Regions from separate parts of the Homo sapiens genome. Here region 1 is linked to region 2. The links are contacts of gene promoters, found by promoter capture Hi-C in blood cells and fetal thymus (Javierre and others, 2016). All regions are on one chromosome and are shown on one strand. The core of a region is centred on a gene start or on the middle of the fragment in contact, and the rest is flanking DNA. Distances in the headings are between cores, read along the strand shown.

Region 1 (2,700 bases), core at 89-2,588, 1.8 Mb after region 2:
TCCTCCTTCCGGGGTGCACCAGAATCCTCCCATCGCTCGGTCCTGTCACGTGACCACGCCTACTACACCAGCCACGTGAGCTTCTGAGCCGGCTTCCGCGCAGGCGCAGTGGATCTCTCTTGCGCCATTCCAAACATGGCGGCTCCACTAGGGGGTATGTTTTCTGGGCAGCCACCCGGTCCCCCTCAGGCCCCGCCGGGCCTTCCGGGCCAAGCTTCGCTTCTTCAGGCAGCTCCAGGCGCTCCTAGACCTTCCAGCAGTACTTTGGTGGACGAGTTGGAGTCATCTTTCGAGGTAATATAAGACATGGGCGTCTTTGTCCCTAGCCTTCCCTTTTTTCTGAAACGTGAACTGCGCGTACGCGTATCTCCTCCAGGGATCCGAGCAACTAATTCACAAATGGGGAAACTGAGGCTTAAAGTAAGTCACTTGCTTTAGGCTTCCCCGTGGCCCGTATTCAATTCAGGTCTGCTGGCGGGGGCGCGTAAACTCGACGTTTGTGGAAACGTGAACCCGAAGTTTGCCTAAACCCCAAACTTGGAACCCTTCCAGATTCCCAGCCGGTCCTTAGTCTCATCCCCGAGCACCGTTTCTTGCATCCCTGCATGTTTAGTAAGAGGCTCAAGCCTTTTCGGAGCTGAGAGTTTCACTGCTGTATCCTGTATCCTTTCCGCTGGGCTTCACCTTTAAACGATCCTAAAGGGACTCTTAAGAGCGGAAATTGACTTAAGTTACCAGGCGCAGCTTGGTACTAAGAGCTGAGGAAGGAGGAATGCTGGAGGTTAGGGAGGGAGGGAGGCACAGGTGACCCAATCTCTCAGTTTTGCCCAAGGAGTTTACCTTGTAGCAAGAAAGGTGAACTGTATATTGAGGGAAGATAGAGAGGTGAAAATAAGTGCTCTGGTGATTTCCAGTAGTCTTTAAAGTGGAAGATGAGCTATTCCTGTGTAGTAATAAAGTAATGTACGTTCAAATTGGAGTTAACTTTTCCACATTTTAAATCCCAGTTTTGCCGGGCGCGGTGGCTCACGCCTGTAATCCCAGCACTTTGGGAGGCCGAGGCTGGCGGATCATGAGGTCAGGAGTTCGAGACCAGCCTGACCAACATGGTGAAACCCTGACTCTACTAAAAATACAAAAATTAGCCAGGCGTGGTGGCGTGCGCCTGTAATCCCAGGTACTCGAGAGGCTGAGGCAGGAGAATCGCTTGAACCTGGGATGCGGAGGTTGCAGTGAGCGGAGACCGCGCCATTGCACTCCAGCGTGGGTGACAAGAGCTCGACTCCGTCTCAAAAAAGTAAAATAAAATATAAATAAATAAAAATCCCAACTTTGTGACTTTTGTATTGTATCTAATAGCACAGTGGTAAATGAATATAATTTGCAAGCGATTATTCAGACTGCATGGACAAAATGCTTTTACCACACGGATGTACAAAGATTTAGAAATAAATGATTTGAGATGGAGTCTCACTCTCTCGCCCAGGCTGGAGTACAGTGGCGCAATTTCGGCTTACTGCAACCTCCGCCTCCCGGGTTCAAGCGATTTTCCTGCCTCAGCCTCCCGAGTTGCTGGGATTACAGGCACCTGCCACCATGCTATTTTTTTTATTTTTTAGTAGAGACAGGGCTTCACTATCTTGGCCAGGCTGGTCTCGAACTCCTGACCTCGTGATCCACCCGCCTCGGCCTCCCAAAGTGCTGGGATTACAGGCGTGAGCCACTGCGCCTAGCCAGAAATAAATGATTTAAAGGACAGACCGTTTAGGAGGAGGAGGAGGAGACACCTTTGAGGTGGTGCTAAGTGGTAAAGGAAGGGGCTGGTGAACTTTAGAGCAGCATCTAGCATTGTGCTTGAGGGGAGCTGGCTCTCAGTCATGGGCACTTGCTGAAAGACTGGCCCTGTACAAGTCTTAGCCAAAGTTGACTCCCAGCACCCTGCTGCTTAAAAACGTACAGTGGCTGCTTGTTGCCCTTGAGATAAGATCAAGATGTTTAGTGTGGTCTCCCAGGCTTTGCATGTTGCGTTCTCTCCTTCAGACTCGTTTCCTTACTGCAGCCACACAAGACTTTCCCACGTGTACCATTTGTTTTCTCTTTGGGCTTCCAGGCCGCTCCTCAGCTCACTGCATCACTTCCTCAGTGGACCCTTCCCTGGCCTTCTTTTTAATACTTACCATTAAATTCGGCTCCATGAAGTCAGAGACTACCTGTTTTGTACCCCCACCCCTCACATTGTGTAACCTGTAGTGCTAATACAGTGGTAGTAGATAGCAAGTGCTAGATGAATATTTGTCAGACATTGAAGGAATCTGTAGTGTGGAGCCTGTAGTGTAGTTGGCTTGTGCACAGAACTCCTTGCCTGATTCACATATATGTCTGTAGGTGCCCTTGAGAGAGAACTCCCTCTGGGACTTGATTATCCATACAGAGAATACAGAGAAAACCAGTCCCTGCCTTCAGGAAGCTTGTAATAAACGGCAGGCAGTTGCCTTGTTGTAGGATCACTGCTCTGATAGAAGAAACCTGGGGTACTGTGGGAGCACATATAGGTGTGGACATCAAAGAAGGCTTCCCAGAGAGCAGGAAAGCCAAAGAAGCATTTTGACTTAGCCAGGTGAAGGGGAGTGGGAGTGGTGCGAGCTGGATCCTCTCTGCTGCTGGGTGATCACGATCTGTCTAGTCTTGTCTCACGATTCA
Region 2 (2,700 bases), core at 70-2,569:
GCACTGCATGTTCTCACTTATAAGTGGGAGCTGAACAATGAACACAGGGAGGGGAACAACACACACTGGGGCCTGTTGGGGAGAGTGGAGGGAGGGAGAGCATCAGAAAGAATAGCTAAAACATGAGGGGCTTAATACCTAAGCAATGGATTGATAGGTGCAGCAAACCACCATGGCACACATTTACCTATGTAACAACTCTGCACGTCCTGTACATGTATCCCAGAACTTAAAACAAAATAAAAAAGATAAAAAATAAATAAAACACACAGTCCAAAAAGTCATCCTGTCTTACAGAGCTATGGGTGATCTGGTCTCCTGCTACTTTCCGAACTTCTGTTCTGTTTCCCTCAACCCTCTAGCCTAACTACAATTGGCCTCCTTGCTGCTCTGGAACAGGCCAAGAGCTTTTCTGCCTCAGAGTCTTTGCACCTGCCATTTCCTCTGCTTGGGAAATGTTTGCCCCAAGGGAGTTGGGTGACTTGATCGCTCACATTACTTAGGTCTCTGCTTGAATGTCACAGATGTTCTCTTAATAAAGAAGAGGCAAGAAAAGCCACTTTATTATTTATTAAACTCCCGCATAGAGTGCAGTATTATTACTGTGTGCCAGACCCTGCTTCAAACACATTCCATGGACTATAAAATTGCATCTCTGAGCAGCTCCTAGAGCTGGTAGTAACAACTTACATTTACTGGGTGATTACCATGTGCCAGGTATTGTGCTAAACACGTTGTAGATATTAACTCACTTAATCCTCGTAACAATCCCATGAAGTAGGTACTGCTACTATCCCGGCTTTACATCTGAAGTACAGAGAGGTTAAGTAACTTGCCCCATGTCATCCAGCAAGAACTAAATTTGAACCCAGAGCTTAGCCACTGATGCCTCTTGAGAGAAGGAGTCAGACTTAAGTTGAGTCTTTAAAGGTGGTTGACCAGGCATTTGTCAGAGTTAAGAAAGAGAGGTAGGACATCCTTTTCCAGGCAGAGGGCATTGTGTGCACACACGTATAGAAGCAGGCAGCCCACCCTCATGCTTTCCAGGAAGCAAATGTGGCTCAGGTGTAAAGTGCCCGGTTGATGAAGGGAGTTAGCGGAGGGAGTATAAGGATGTACTGTCTGCCCCCTTAGGACACCTGCAGAGGATTAAGGTGGCTGTTTCTCCCTGGAGGTGGAGTGGGTGGGTCACTGCACAGGAGCCTATAGTTGTTGGTCTTTTAAACTCTTATTGGTGTAACCAGCCACGGAACTCTGAGGCAAGGGGTTGGGGGTGGGAAGGGAAACAGAGAAAAGGCAAGTGAAACAGAAGGGGAGGTGCAGTTTCAGAACCCAGCCAGCCTCTCTCTTGCTGCCTAGCCTCCTGCCGGCCTCATCTTCGCCCAGCCAACCCCGCCTGGAGCCCTATGGCCAACTGCGAGTTCAGCCCGGTGTCCGGGGACAAACCCTGCTGCCGGCTCTCTAGGAGAGCCCAACTCTGTCTTGGCGTCAGTATCCTGGTCCTGATCCTCGTCGTGGTGCTCGCGGTGGTCGTCCCGAGGTGGCGCCAGCAGTGGAGCGGTCCGGGCACCACCAAGCGCTTTCCCGAGACCGTCCTGGCGCGATGCGTCAAGTACACTGAAATTCATCCTGAGATGAGGTGGGTTGGCGACTAAGGCGCACCGGTGGGCACTGCGGGGACAGCAGGGCCCCGCGCGCAGGGAAGCCGCCCGGATCGCCCGGAACCGGGCATCTTCCGTGGCGGGTCAGCCGAGAGCCCGCCGGGTGGTGCTGAGTAGGGAGTCCCGGGCTCGGGGCTCCGCGGGCCGCTTTCAGGAGCAGCTGGCCTTGGCACCGAGCGTGCCCGCGGGAGGCGGGGGGGGGCGCTGCTCGGTGGCTCTGCTGCGTAGCCGGTGAACACTTGGCACCGATGCCCGCCTTCTGGGCAAGGTGCCCTGAGCCCAGCCCCTCGCCGGGCTGCAGCCCACCCTCGGCGCGCTCAGCCCGCTTCACCGCTTCAGGGACGGAATAGAACTCGCAGATGCAGGGTGTCGCTGACATTTTCAACTTTTTCTGCGGTTTCCGCCCGCTGTCTCTGACCCGAAAGTGCCCCCGGACGGTTACAGAGGACACTTAAGTGGTTTGCAAAGCCTGTGGTAGGGGAGGAGGGTGTAGAAGGGCCAAACCACGGAACTTAGTTTTATTCATTTATATAAAGCAGCACTCCGATTCTTTTTGCGCGGCCTGAAATGCATGTGACCAGAGAAGTAATTAACAAAACAATGTCAACTTCTAAAACCGAGACATTACTTAGATGATAAGGCGCAGCAACTCGGTGAATCTGTACAAACCTTGGAAAAAAAACACATTAGTCTATGGGACCTTCCAGTTTTCTCATGCTCCTTTCCAGCTACTAACCTCTCCTAAAGGGAACAACCACTTTTTGGATTTGATTCCCAGGCCTCGCTTTCACCGGGAAATTATCGTTGCTTGTAAAACAGAAGAAGCCGGGAAGGCAGGCAGGGGGAGCTGCTACTTTACACTCTGTGCTTTGGGATAGCAAAATCCCGCATTTAAGCAATCCGAGGAAACGAGCAAATAGACCTCCCTCGCCTCTCCGAGCACACTCAACAGTTCCGGTTGCAAAATGTTTGCCTCCTGGGCTTCCCAGCGTCCCGTTAGTTGTTCTATTTACACATAATTAGATACTTAATGGAGAGA

Evidence for each region. Contacts are between HindIII fragments. The CHiCAGO score rates a contact against its expected background, and 5 or more counts as called.
Region 1: a fragment that was not itself captured here is called in contact with the fragment with the promoter of CD38 in region 2 in 1 of 17 cell types (activated CD4 T cells); the score reaches 5.9 in activated CD4 T cells.

The regions. Positions count from the first base shown.
Region 1 is chr4:17,614,520-17,617,219 of GRCh38, forward strand. It overlaps MED28 (mediator complex subunit 28), which reads left to right and starts at 122. Exons shown (of 4, transcript NM_025205.5): 1 at 122-294. The coding sequence starts at 136. It overlaps MED28-DT (MED28 divergent transcript), which reads right to left and starts at 61. Exons shown (of 3, transcript NR_186331.1): 1 at 1-61. RefSeq lists enhancers at 1-666, 1-61, 162-271. The HindIII fragment of the contact is 2,253 bases long and covers 213-2,465 here.
Region 2 is chr4:15,777,009-15,779,708 of GRCh38, forward strand. CD38 (CD38 molecule) reads left to right here and starts at 1,320. Exons shown (of 8, transcript NM_001775.4): 1 at 1,320-1,639. The coding sequence starts at 1,407. RefSeq lists enhancers at 1,105-1,747, 1,159-1,658 and silencers at 1,789-1,838, 2,029-2,078. The HindIII fragment of the contact is 6,782 bases long and covers 1-2,700 here.